Linked DNA regions of Homo sapiens: all the other regions are linked to region 3. Evidence: promoter capture Hi-C in 16 types of primary human blood cells and fetal thymus (Javierre and others, 2016). All regions are on one chromosome and are shown on one strand. The core of a region is centred on a gene start or on the middle of the fragment in contact, and the rest is flanking DNA. Distances in the headings are between cores, read along the strand shown. Region 1 overlaps CACYBP (calcyclin binding protein). Region 2 overlaps RABGAP1L (RAB GTPase activating protein 1 like). Region 3 holds the start of SUCO (SUN domain containing ossification factor). Region 4 overlaps RABGAP1L (RAB GTPase activating protein 1 like). Region 5 has its middle 5.4 kb from the start of SCYL3.

The links. Contacts are between HindIII fragments. The CHiCAGO score rates a contact against its expected background, and 5 or more counts as called.
Region 1: a fragment that was not itself captured here is called in contact with the fragment with the promoter of SUCO in region 3 in 8 of 17 cell types (total B cells, naive CD8 T cells, total CD8 T cells and 5 more); the score reaches 11.8 in total B cells.
Region 2: a fragment that was not itself captured here is called in contact with the fragment with the promoter of SUCO in region 3 in 1 of 17 cell types (monocytes); the score reaches 7.3 in monocytes.
Region 4: a fragment that was not itself captured here is called in contact with the fragment with the promoter of SUCO in region 3 in 1 of 17 cell types (neutrophils); the score reaches 8.2 in neutrophils.
Region 5: a contact is called between a fragment that was not itself captured here and the fragment with the promoter of SUCO in region 3, in 1 of 17 cell types (neutrophils). The highest score is 6.1, in neutrophils.

What each region holds. Positions count from the first base shown.
Region 1 is chr1:175,002,143-175,004,842 of GRCh38, forward strand. CACYBP (calcyclin binding protein) reads left to right here. Exons shown (of 6, transcript NM_014412.3): 2 at 2,472-2,691. Among named protein-coding and RNA genes, the nearest start is that of CACYBP, 3.5 kb to the left of the region's middle. The HindIII fragment of the contact is 1,916 bases long and covers 373-2,288 here.
Region 2 is chr1:174,962,164-174,964,863 of GRCh38, forward strand. The region is part of intron 20 of RABGAP1L (RAB GTPase activating protein 1 like); the gene reads left to right. Among named protein-coding and RNA genes, the nearest start is that of RABGAP1L-AS1, 9.3 kb to the left of the region's middle. The HindIII fragment of the contact is 1,769 bases long and covers 439-2,207 here.
Region 3 is chr1:172,531,792-172,534,491 of GRCh38, forward strand. SUCO (SUN domain containing ossification factor) reads left to right here and starts at 1,359. Exons shown (of 24, transcript NM_014283.5): 1 at 1,359-1,706. The coding sequence starts at 1,645. RefSeq lists enhancers at 558-667, 728-977, 1,588-1,747 and a silencer at 1,298-1,467. The HindIII fragment of the contact is 4,223 bases long and covers 1-2,472 here.
Region 4 is chr1:174,983,104-174,985,816 of GRCh38, forward strand. All of the region lies in intron 24 of RABGAP1L (RAB GTPase activating protein 1 like), which reads left to right. Among named protein-coding and RNA genes, the nearest start is that of CACYBP, 15 kb to the right of the region's middle. The HindIII fragment of the contact is 1,764 bases long and covers 550-2,313 here.
Region 5 is chr1:169,897,898-169,900,656 of GRCh38, forward strand. No RefSeq gene overlaps it. Among named protein-coding and RNA genes, the nearest start is that of SCYL3, 5.4 kb to the left of the region's middle. The HindIII fragment of the contact is 5,358 bases long and covers 1-2,759 here.

The sequences.
Region 1 (2,700 bases), core at 81-2,580, 2.5 Mb after region 3:
TAGGAGTGGAATTACTGGTTCATATGGTAACTTTCTGAGAAACTGTTAGACTGTTTCCAGAGTGGTTGCATCATATTCCTGTAAGAAATGTTTGAAGCTTCTGAAAGTTTCTCCACATCATTATCAACATTTGTTATTTTCTGGGGTGTTTTATTTTTCTTTTTCGGTTTATGATACCATCCTACTGGGTGTGAAGTGGCATCTTGGGAATTTGATATGCGTTTACCCAATGATGAAGATGTTGAGCATCTTTAATGTTCTTGGTGTCCATTTCTGTGTCTTTGGAGAAATGTGTGTTGAATTCCTTTGCCCATTTTTGAGGCACATTGGTGTTAATGCCTCCTAGTGAAAAATTAGGAAATAGGAAGATAAAGCTTGAATGCCTTATGGGTAGGGATAAAAGAGAAATAAAATTTTTATATACGTAAAACAAACACATGCCAAGAAGGCAAGGAAAATTACATGATAAATTAGATAGGAAACTAGGACATCTTAAAGTATTTGTGCAGAAAAAGCATCAAAGGAATCACCTTTGTTGGTTTCAAGTCTGCCAATAACAGAACTGAGGAACTGTCTCAGTTTTAAGTTTTTTCAGTGGATACTTCATAATAAAAAGAGTACTTTAGAGTCAAAACTGGCAATAAAGAGGGCTTGGGAATTCAGCCATTGGGGGAATCCCTTGCCTAATTCGAAGTACCTTTCTCATTCTGCTAGATAAAGTATTCCTATTTCAGTCAAAAAGCAAAACCTCTTGCTTAGACTTAATATATTTCATTTTACATTTCAATATTTTTATTATGAATTAGGAGTTGTAGAATCAGCGTTTTTTTGAAACCATTACAATAAAAATATTACTTTGAACTGAAACATTTTGGTTCTATGCTCAAAAGATGAGTTTGCAAGATTTTTTGTCATAGTAATATGAGCTGTTCTTGGAAGGGTCGAGAGTGTGGACAAGAGGGTTGGGCAGAGTTGATTTTTTTTTTTTTTTGGGAGACCGAGTTTTGCTCTTGTTGCCCGGGCTGGAGTGCAATGGCGCGATCTCGGGTCACTGCAACCTTTGCCTCCCGGGTTCAAGCGATTCTTCTGCCTCAGCTTCCCGAGTAGCTGGGATTACAGGCACGTGCCACCACACCCGGCAAATTTTTGAATTTTAAGTAGAGACGGGCTTTCGCCGTGTTGGTCATGTTGGTCTCGAACCCCTAACCTCAAGTGATCCACCCGCTTTGGCCTCCCAAAGTACTGGGATTACAGGTGTGAGCCACTGCACCTGGCCAGAGTTGAACTTTTTATACCATGTCATCTGTTATAGATAGGCAAAACTAGGGCATCTGAGTTAAATGAGATAACAAAAGACTTGTAGTAAAAGAAAAGAATTAGTTCTGTTATTGCATTTTATAAGACTATTAAGAAACAGGCTTTCAAACTCTGTTGTGCGTCTGATATTCTGAGTTATAAAGCACTAAAAGACTTTTTTAAATTGAGCTTTTGATATCAAGCTGTGACACAAGATTTTTTTGGTCAAGTTGGTAGTGTCAAGCCAGAGTGTAAAGTTATTGTAAGAAAAGTGAAACAGCTGTTTGGAAAGATCTTGTGTATTTGCAGTATGTCAGAGGGTAATTGGGGGAAAAAAAACTTAGGCTCAATAATTTTCTAACATTGTCTTTAACTCTTGAATTTCATAAAATGTTGCCTCTATCTCTAGAAAGTAGAAAGTAGTAGACTTTAATAGATGATGGATTGGCAAGAGAAGAAAATGAGAACGTGGTGGCTTTTTCAAAAGATAATTTCCAAGAGTATGTTGCATTTTCGGTCTTTTGTCACCTTCTGTGCAACCAACTCCTACACTTCTGAGTGTAAGACTGACCCAGCTTCAGAGCAAGACTTTTCCTCAAAAGCAGAAATTTTTTTTTTTATCTTTTGTCTTAAAAATTAAGACTTTTTTTATGTGAGGTATTTGAGGTGGGAAGATAATGAAGACCAATCAGTGACAGAAAGTGGAGCATTCATTACCTCAGTTAAGTTTGCTATAAAAGCATTTTACCATGGTCACTGCATGTTCTCTCATCTCTTAAATATTTTAAAAGTGTCTAACATCTAATGACACTCGGATTAGATGTTACAAGGAAATCTATGAATCCTTTGTCAAAAAAAAGTTCTTTGTTTTACTTTTTAGGTCGCAGACGTTTCTTGTAAATATTTTAAAACATAAACTGGAAAATTTAGGTTTGAAGACCTATTTATTGTTTGTTCAAGATTGTTCAAAGTTTTCCTTTTGAAAAAAAGGAAGCTTGAGTTAATTACAGTTAATAAGCCAGATGGAAGAATTGAAGTTGCAACTCAATCCTAGAAAATTTAGATGAACTTCTTAATTCTTAGTGCTTATTTCAGTAAGTTGAAATGAGTGATACGCACAATATCAAGCCATTTCCTTATTTATCATAGCTAACTTATTTTTTGTCTTAACACAGCTACAGAAAGATCTAGAAGAGGTAAAGGTGTTGCTGGAAAAGGCTACTAGGAAAAGAGTACGTGATGCCCTTACAGCTGAAAAATCCAAGATTGAGACAGAAATCAAGAACAAGATGCAACAGAAATCACAGAAGAAAGCAGAACTTCTTGATAATGAAAAACCAGCTGCTGTGGTTGCTCCCATTACAACGGGCTATACGGTGAAAATCAGTAATTATGGTATGACTT
Region 2 (2,700 bases), core at 73-2,572, 2.4 Mb after region 3:
GACTCCGTCTCAAAAAATAAAAATAAAAATACACCCCCCCCCCACACACACACACAGCTAGTTAATTAAATTCAGTGAATCTCCCAAAGCATAATAAAGGTTACCTGTTCTAGATGGGAAAATACTAAAAGAATCTGGAATGCTTAAACTCTCTTGGGTTTGGGACACAGACATTATTATAAATACATAATTTCTAATTGAAGTGTCTTATCCATGTTCAGTACAATTAAATTTAGAATGTTTAACCTCATTCTTGAGATTAAACAAAGTAATTTTTAAAATCAAAATGTAATTTAAACAAAGAAAATGATTCCTCTATGTTTCCACAGAGTTTTTTCTTGCACATACTGGTTTTTGTAGAGCAATTGCTCCTACATGTAATTTCAAATTAAGCTATTATGCATAGTAAAAATAATACAAATGAAATATTTGAAATAAAGCTTAATTGTACTTTTTTGCCATCCTTAAATATCTAATGCAATAGTTTAGAGTAATTTTCACATTTCTTTTAAACTTGACAAATAAAAGTTTAAATTAGTATACATTTCTTACCTATAAAAAAGAGGGAGTAGACTTTTTAAAAAAACTGTTGGACCCTTTCTTACTCAGGGGAGTCAAGATAAGTGAATCCATCTTTGAAAAATGTTTTTCTGGCTGGGTGTGGTGGCTCACACCTGTAATCCCAGCACTTTGGGAGGCCAAGGCAGGTGGATCACTTGAGGTCAGGAGTTCAAGACCAACCTGGCCAACATGGTAAAACCCTGTCTCTACTAAAAATACAAAAATTAGCTGGGTGTGGTGGCACATAACCTGTAGTCCCAGCTACTCAGTAGGCTGAGGCAGGAGAACCTCTTGAACCTGGGAGGCAGAGGTTGCAGTGGGCAGAGATCGTGCCACTGGACTCCTGCCTGGGTGACAGAGCAAGACTCCGTCTCAAAAAAAAAAAAAATTTTTTTTCTGCCATAGCAAATAAACTTACATTTTATTATTTTTTCATATCCCAAAAACTGTGTTGGCTTTTGGAAATAGTATGTTATGAAATAATGTGCTTTTAAGGAATAGTAATAGACACAAGGATGGTTTATATATGCCTATGATAACTTAATGATAAACTTCAGAAGTCTTCCACTTTCTCTTTGAGCTTGGATAATCCAGAGAGTTCATTGTTATAGGATGGTGAAGATGCAAAACTAAATCCTTTTGGCTTCTCAAGCAATATAGCTAATAAGGAGTGGGCGATTTCTAACAATGCTGGTCTGCTAGAGTCCCTTATACTTAACCCTTGGGGGAAGAATATGCTTTAGGAACACTAAGAATTTCTAGTATGTTTACTGGTGATCTTCAGAGTTTTCAAGAAACTTTCATTAATTTTTAGAAAGTTTTCTTTTCTGTTTAAGTATTACTGAGAAAATTACCTGACACTAATATGTTTCTATATCATCTAGAATGCATCTGCTTTTTGAAAATTTGATTTGTGTACTAGAGTAGAGCAAGGATCTGCAGACTGTGGTTTATAGGCCAAATCTGGCTCACTGCCAGTTTTTGTAAACCAAGTTTTATTGGAACACAACCACACCTGTTTATTTATTTATAGTGTATGGCTGGTTTTGTATGACATTTGTAGAGTTGAGAAATTTCAACATAGACCATGCGACCTGCAAAGCCTAATATAGTTACTTTCTGGCAATTTACACTAGAAGTTTGCTGACCCCTGTGCAAGAGTATAACCTAAGATAGTTTTTTAAGCGCTGAAAGAAATGCAGTCTGTTTGGCCAGCTGTCATTTATCACTGACAAGATTTTGTTTTTAGTTTGACATTTAAAAATTTGAAATTTTCCACTACAAAGATAAAATTGGATGTGATGAGTAAAGGAGGGAAGCACAAAACCTTCAAATATCCATATTTTCTTTCTCAGATCTTCATTATGGACAACATAGATATTTAAACATTTTATCTGTAGGCATTTGAAAACTTGAATATGATAGCTGTCAACTCTTTTAAAAGAGGTATCCAAAAGAAAATATGTGAGAGTTGAGTGTGTTGTTGCTAATAAATTTGCACTGAGTCTTTTAGGAAAACATTTTCTCCTGACCCTTAAAAGTCTTTAAAAGCATGTGCCAAGAATTCATCATAGCAGCAGACAACACCCAAAATATTGAGCTAGGGTTTATAAAGCCGCCTCCCTCCTCGTCATTTTTTCCTTTAAAGCTTAGTTTCTTTACTTTTAATTAACAGTTCACATTTCTCTGGTTTCTCATCTTGAAATAAATGACGTTCACAATCCCTTGAACCGCTTCACCCAGACTTCAGCCCCCAGGTACACATGAGATCCAGGATCCATTTTTCTTTTGCATTGCCCTGCCCAGCAATTTCATTCTTTTGTCTGAAGATGAACTATTTTGCAAGATTTCTGACCTTGTCATATAAGGAAGTTCCTTCCACCCAGCTTTAACAACACAGTATCAACACCTCACACCGTAGTTCCTTAATAGTCCCACATACAGCATTTTAGTCATTCATGCAAACTGTAAACAGCAATGTGGAGAGGGAGGAGTTTGAAGATATGAGTCTTCCTGAGTTGAGACTTGCCCACTGGCTACCTCAAGTATCTTTGTTCCATTGAATGTTTGCGGTCACAGAGAGAACTTAGAGTTATATGACACTCAAAGGAAAAGCAAAAGAGCATTAAGAAGTGTCTG
Region 3 (2,700 bases), core at 109-2,608:
AAGAGTGGCATCAGCAGATAAGTGGAACTGTACCTAATTACTGCCAGAAAAGGCAGTTCAGGGTGAACTCCTTTAAAACAAAAATTATCACCCTTTGTATAATTTCTCTAACATCAAATTGACTTATATCCAAGAATCACAGAGCGGATCAAATCATTCAGTTCTTTGGGACTATAATTAACATCCAATTCAACTTAGAAGGTTCATAAGGAAATTCCGCGGCTCAAAATTAGGCGTTAGGTGGGCATTTTACTGAGGGTTTTTTCCCTACGGCCACATGAACAATAAGTAACCCGTCCTTTAAACATTTTTCACACTAAACATTATGCCATGTTCCAAGGCACAGACCATTGCAGCCTCCGTCCCCTCAGCGGCGTAAACACTTGGAATGGGCATGCTGCCCCGTTACTTAGTATTGAGAAGTGGTCACTTTTTGCTCTTCTTAGGTGAGTGTAAGCGACTGCCTTCCCCACTTTAGGTGAACCCCAGGACTTGGAGCGTCTGTGGGTGCTCCTCTAATGGGGACAACTCCTCCCTTCCGACTCCATCGCAGAGAACCCAAAGTTCGAAACCAACAGAACGAAAAGCAACGAAGCACACTTAAAGTGAGGAACCCGGCAAGCGGCGAAATTCTTGCTGAAGAGAAGAAAAAGCGAAAGGTTTTCCGCTGCAACCAATCAGATGAGAGGATTCTTGGCACGCCCCTTTCTATCTACCAATCAACATCTAGCTCAATGGGGCAGTCCATTGCCACAGGGAAAGGGCTTGGTGCAGCTTCCCTCACAACACACACGTCATTCTAGGCCATTCCACGAACTGTGCTCAAAAGAGGAAAACAGTGCAACAGTTCCAAAGCTGATCAGTCTCGTGGTGAGCAGCGAAACTATAGACTTCTCTAACAAAACCATGGATTCTAGGAGGGACTGGGAAAGAGAAAAACGAATTCTGGAAGGCAAACTACAACTCCCAAAGGCCCTTGCGCGGACTCAGCGCGCGAGGGACGAAGGGCGGTCCACTGTAAGGGGAAATGCTGAGGATCACTGGGCTCCTCCCGGCTTTCTGAACGCAAGCCAGCAAGTGGGCGGGACCTGGGGCGGGCGGAGCGGCGAGAGCATCTGCTCCTGCGCTTTGTGGTCTCCTGCCTCCGGCTTCTCCGCCTGCGACGTCGAAGGGGGCGTGGCCTGCGCAGAGGCTGGTGGGGGTGCGGGCGCCGCGGGACTTGGGTGACGCGTCCCTTTCCAGCTCAGCGGTGTGTGAGGTGTCGCGGCCCCGCCGGCGATTGGCTGTTGAGAGGCGAGTACGCGGCGGCCGTTGGTCGCTGGCCTCACGGAGCAAGGCCCCCGGCGGGCGGGGAGGATATGGGGCGGCAGTGGCGGCTGCAGGAGGCGGGCGTGGACGAGCCGGTGGCTGCAGCGGCGGCGGTCCCCGGAGTCCTGTGAAGCGCCCCTGTCCGCGCCTCTGTGGGGCCCTCAGAGAGGGCTGCCAGGACGCGAGCCACTGAGGAGCCGCTCAGCCAGCGCCATAGCCCTTAGGACTATCGGTCACATTCTCGCGCTCCTGCTCCGGCTCCTCCATCTTGGCCTCGGCAGTGGCGGCTGCCGGGAGGATGTGCCGCCTTCTGGCAGGGGGAAGAAGGAGGAGAAGATGAAGAAGCACCGGCGGGCCTTGGCCCTGGTCTCCTGCCTCTTTCTGTGCTCTCTGGTCTGGTGAGTAGCCGCGACGACAAGGGAGTTCCCGTGAGGGGAGTAAATGGGAGGGAGCAGCCCAGGTCACACCCCCTGGTCATTTTGGCTTTTAGGGTCCGGGTTTCCAAGGCCCCCGTGGAAGGGACAAACCGATTACTTCTCGACTCTCCATCTGACTGGTCTGGTAGTGCTCTGTGCGGAGATTTTCATGGTGTATTTTGGAATTTACAGAGACTCAGTGGGAGAGAGAGAGGTGCCAAGGTAGAGGGAACCACCAAGTGCCTTTGTACTCAGTTCCTCTACCCCTTGGAGACGGTGCAGGGTTTGGGGTGGGTGTTCAGATTGATGGTAAGTAAGTTGCTCCGATTTGCCGCCAGTCTTTGCGTTCTTAGTGTGGTAAGGGGATAAAGCACGTCGGATGTGATGCGTTCCGGACGTGCGATTTTAAAACGTGAGTGGTCATGAAGGTAAGAGTAATGTATAAGCAGTAGTTCTCCTGGACATTTCTCGCACAGCGTTTGATCCCAAGTACACTCGGGCCGCTGTTTTTGGAAACTTGGGGGGCGTGTGTGTATGTGTGTTATGAAGCACTTTTTCAATTGGTTTGGTGGAGAGGGTGTCTTAGATGTAGTGTGTGTAGTAGTTTTTGGTAATGCCCCTTAGTGACGGGAAGGTAAATGCTGTATTTTCAAGGCGGGAAGAGTGCTTTGTCCCTAAAGCACTCCTTAAGTTTTACGGAGTTTCTGTTAATCCCAGGCACTTCTGGAGTTTTTTGAGGAGCAGAGAAAGCTTGTAAGTCGAGGGACTGCTGTCACCGTACTTGGAAAAGCCATTCTTTCCTCCCAGGGAATTTCTTCAAAGATGTGTGACAATTGATGACTGAAAAGATGCTTCTTCAGTCTAGGCGATTTGCTGTTTGTTATATTAAAATAGAAATTAAGTTTCCTGTTTTGCTTATTTCTGCAAAGCACCAACACTATTTTCATTTTTATGGATGCCTTATGGATTCCAGAAG
Region 4 (2,713 bases), core at 182-2,681, 2.5 Mb after region 3:
TATGGACTGTCAGAGGCAGCTAACATGAAAGGAAGTAGGATTTGACATTGTCACAAGAAGCCCCAGAGCTTGAGATGAGAGTGGTATGAACCTGAGAACCCTCAGCAGCCCACATCTGACTGAGCCTGCATTGATGTGGCTTCAGTATGGGACTCAGTAGGATCATCCCATCACTCTCTTTATAAGTAAACACCATGGGCAATATAGAACTTAGCTGGAAAAACATGTGTTGGGTAACTGATTCTTGCACTAAGTTTTTAGAGGTTTATTTTTAAAGAAAACCTGTGGCATTTGTTTACTTGCTGCCCCCTGGTGGTAAAATGCATTATGTTGATGCTCTATTTGAAAAAAACAGATTGCTTATTCCATAGAAACAACAGTAAACCAATGGATTGGTATTCTTAAGAGGCAATATTGTCATAGTCAACTTTTGGGACCAGTGTTACAGAAACCTGACATCATCTTATTTGAATATGTTCAGGTTTCATACTAGTAAATAAATGTGTAGTAAGTAATTTAGCAATCTTGAAAAGTGATTTAACCTTTTTAAGCTTCATTTTGTGTTCTATAAAATGGAGATAACATTACCTGCCTCAAAAAATCATTCTGAATGTTAAATAAGATAATGAATATAAAGTACATAGTGTATATAAAGTGCTTATATTAGTACCTGACATACAAGACCTTGTATTCCAAAAGTATTTTCTTCTTACTCATGTTACAAAATGTCAATGAGAGATTTAGTGAGTATAAGGTTTGGTGTTCTCCCTCTCTGATGTGCTAAAATTTGATGTTTGTATCTTCCCTTTCTGGTCTACTTTTGCACTTCTTTCTAGTTAGCACTTACCACTCTTTGTACATTATAGGCATACTGACCAAGATTCAGTTGATGAAGTTGAATGGCATAAAGGGGTTAACTCTCCTGAAGTGAATTTTTTTTGTATTTCTTCTAACAAAAAAAAAAAAAAAAAAAAAGGGATACATGTGCAGAAGGTGCAGGTTTGTTACATAGGTATACGTGTGCCATGGTGGTTTGCTGTGCCTGTTAACCCATCCTCTAAGTTCCCTCCCCTCAGTCCCCACCCCCAACAACAGGCCCTGGTGAGTGTTGTTCCCCTCTTCTGTGTCCATGTGTTCTCAGTGCTAAACTGAAATCTTTATGGAAATAACAAAATGAGAATTTATATTGATTATTCAGCAAAGGTTTTATTGAGCATATACTATGTGCATAGCTATTAGACTGCCATTTTGTTATAGAAATTACACATGAAAAGGAGCTTAAAATTTTCCTGTAGGACAAGTTATGTATACATGCAAATTAAGAACTTCGGAAGCAGTTCAAGGGAGCTAAGTTGGGCCAGGTGTGGTGGCTCACGCCTGTAATCCCAACACTTTGGGAGGCTGAGGTGGGCAGATCACCTGAGGTCAGGCGTTCAAGACCAGCCTGGCCATCATGGTGAAACCCTGTCTCTGCTAAAAATAACAAAAATTAGCCAGGCATAGTGGCTCACACCTGTAATCTCAGCTACTCTGGAGGCTGAGGCACAAGAATCACTTGAACCCAGGAGGCAGAGGTTGCAGTGAGCCGACATTGTGCCACTGTACTCCAGCCTGAGCAGCAGAGTGAGATTCCATCTCAAAAAAACAAAAAACAAACAAAAAAAGTGCTAAGTTGGATCACAATGACAATCAGCATTGTAGAGAAAACAAAATCATGAGAACTATAGACCAAAAAAGGCTTTATGGAGATTGGACTAAAGCAGGGTGGATAGAAATTAGTTAGAGAGAAGTGTTTAAACAGAACATTATAGAAGAAATGATGTGAGTGAAGACGCAAACACAGGAATGAGTATTTCAGTGTCTCATTACAGAGACTGATGTGATTAGAATATGTATTAAGGAACAGAGGAAAATATTGGCTAAGTAGGTGAGACTACCTAATGAAAGGCCATGACATTCAGGAAGAGGAATGTAAACTTGTCTTAGCCAGAATAAAGAAGAACAACTAGGCTCACGCCTGTCATTCCAACACTTTGGGGAGGCTGAGGTGGGCGGATCACTTGAGTCCAGGAGTTCAACTTGGTGAAACTCCTGGACTGGGAAACTTGGTGAAACCCTGTCTCTACAAAAAATACAAAAATTAGCCGGATGTGGTGGCATGCACCTGTAGTCCCAGCTCCTCAGGAGGCTGAAGTGGGAGGATCGCTTGAGCCCAGGAGGCTGAAGCTGCAGTGAACTGTGAGCATGCCATGGCACTCCAGCCTGGGTGACAGTAAGAGCCTGGTACAAAATTAAAAAAGAAAAAGACAGTAAAGCTTCTTTTTTATTGATGATAAGGTCGCAAACAGGTAATTCATTTGATCAAGGTTACACAGCTAGTAGAACCAGGATTTAAGCCTGGAAGTCAGACTCTAAAGTCAATAACATTAGCTGTTAGACTATACTACCTCCCCTTTCTCTAGTGCTTCCTCCTATCTCATTTGGTATGATAAATAGCTTTTGGTTTTTTCAGTTTCCTGTAATAACCTTCTTTTGTCATGATCACCCCCCAGTTCATCCTTTACACTATAATCAGAATGAGTGTTCCCAAATATAAAGTGATATTTGACTATCACTCTGTGTATCAATGCAGAATTAGATTGGCCACATATAGGGAACCCAAAATAGCATTGGCTTAAACATAAAAGGTGTTGATTATTTTACATAAAAGCAG
Region 5 (2,759 bases), core at 257-2,756, 2.6 Mb before region 3:
TGTCTTTTTAGTTTCCTCATTAACTAATGTGTTCATTTTATATTTGCATGAGAGTTATAATTATATTTTGAAAATTCTACTTGAATGCAATTTATCAGAGACAGCTCCCCTGAAAACACTGTCTAAAACAGCACCTTACCTGCCTCTTCCTGTCTTTTGACTTTGCCTTATTTTGCTTAACACCAATGCACATATTTGTTCAGCATCTCTGTCCCACAGCTAGAACATCAGCTCCCTGAAAACAGGGCTTCCTTCCTTCATTTCTTTCTTTCCTGCCATATTTCTAGCACATAACACAGTGCCTAGAACATACTAGGTACTCAGTAAATATTAAACACACAAATGAATTTACTGAGAGCACACTGCATGTCCCAGGCACCCTCCCTACATCTCTCTGCCTCCCAGCCCTTACCCCACAGAGCCCTCTATAGCTCTGGTTCCAGTTCTCAGTTCCCTGGAGCTGCTCTCTGAGCTCCTTCTGCCTTTCTTATGCATAGAAATCTTGTATTCCCTCACTGATTCCTCAGTCCTCATTTTAAATATGTCTAAGGCCAGGAAAGAAAAGAATCTCCAACAACCTGAATCCGCTGTCCTTGGAATGTGGCTGGTGGGACAGTTAGAAACAAATAGTTTGTTTTCTTAATAGAAATAATTTTTTCTTGTCATACTGTTTAAGGATCAACCTGAATTTTACTTCCAACCAATCCTCTTCTTAATTCAAATCAAAACATGTCAATGGTATTCAGCTTGACTTTTAGGTGTTTTTTTAATTAATCTTTTTCATGTTTCTAACTTAGATTCCCAAGTAGACTATAAGTATCTTGGATATATTCCTGGTTCTATAAAAGCCTTAGCCATCCAACTTAATTATTTTTTTCCAACTTGATTTGAACTAACTTTTTTACAAGCTCTACCTGAAAACCAAAGAGAGTAAAAGTTATTCAAGTGATTTCTATTTAATGTTCTACCTCAATAATTTGTGTAATTGCATAATTGCAATTAGAATCTGGAAGTGTAAAGGGGGAAACTTGCATGAATGACAAACCCTCCTTCAGGCACATTTCAGATAAATACATATAGCATCCATAAGTAGTGGATACCTTATAGAAAACTGAACTGGACCTAAGCCACTTTGTTCTCTCGTTGTTTTTAGGAACTTTGCATAGATATTGGAAGATTTCTCTAATGAGAAGTATGTGTTTTCTAAGTTCCACCATAACCTTGCTACCACTACAAAGAGAGAATGAAAGCAAGTCTGAGGTGGGATTCTACACATTCACACGTTTATTAGCAAGGTTTAAAGACAGGCAGTAGAGCTGTTATACAAACTCAGTGAGGTTCCACTTCCTTGTGTAGGAGCTTGAATAGCATCTTGCATGAAAGGTCCATCCACTGCAGGAAGATGGGACAGTATTCTAATAGCAGACTCAGCTATCCTCATTAGAGCTGGGTGACAAAATCTTCTTGTAATCTTCTCCATATGGGGCTGGTCTGAAATCCTAAATCTAGGGCACCTTTCCAAAGTGTGTAGATTGCTAGACTCACTAGATTCTCATACTCTGATCATGTAAGGCATGGCAACATTTCTATTCATTCTGTCCATCTTGAAATTACTTATTTTGGCCATGAAAATTCACTTTTAAACATCCTTAAAGCCACTAGTATTGATCTGAGTTAGAGATAGCTGAAGTGTTTGTAGTATCTGCCCCAGGAGTATAGACTTCTCATTGAAATCTTTCAGATGCTAAAAGCCTCTGAAGTGTGAATTGCTTCTCAACTTCAAAGAGCCATGAATCATCTTGGAATCATACTCCTGGGAGAAAGATTTGGGGCAAACAATGTGTGCATTATATATCTACCTCTTCTTTGAAATACTTCAGCCTTCAGGGAGATACAGATGTGTACTAACTTAGATCTATCCTGTAGGGGTGGTTAATTAATATTTGAAGGCAACATGAGCATCCTCTGGAAGCATGTTAAAAATGCAAAAGCTGAGGCCTCACGCTAGATTGTCGAGTCAGAATCTACATTTTAACAGGATCTTTAGGTGATTTGCAGGCACCTTCCTTGCAGGAAGGTTTGAGAACTGCCCTAAATGATCTAAGGCCTCCCTCCTTTGGCCTCACTGCTATCCTCCTGCTCACTAACTCTGGTCCATGCTCAGTGGCCTCCTTGCTGTCCTGTCAGCATGCCAGGTGAGCTCTTGCCTTAGGACTTTTGCTCTAGCGCTTCCTTTTCCTGTCATTCTCTTTTCCCACATGTCCATTTGACTAAGTCTGTTACTTCTATTTTTTGTTCAGATCTCGTCTTCTCAATGAAGTCTGTCCTGATCCACCCTATCTAATTCTACAACGTTTACCTTCCTTCCTGCTACACTCCTGGTGCTTCCTATCCTGTTTTCTTTTGCTTTTTCCCTCCATAGCACTGACCGTCTTATAAACAGCCATATACTGTATTTTCTAGATTGTAAAAACTATAGTTTTTCACATTTTAACATCCCTGAAGGTCAGAATGCATTTTACCACAAATGGCATAATATAATTTGTCAATAATTTTTTCTTAGTGGTACCAAATATATTGATGCTTCCTAAATGTGATGGCATCATATATTTGATGAAATATGACAATTTGCTTATGTATTATGGCTTTTGGTTTTGAGAGAAAACAATTATCTGAAACTTTAAAATAGGCAAAAGAGGTTACTGTGGCTTTCTTCCCATGCAATTCTGGATTAAATTCCTATTGACTAGGTTATTTTA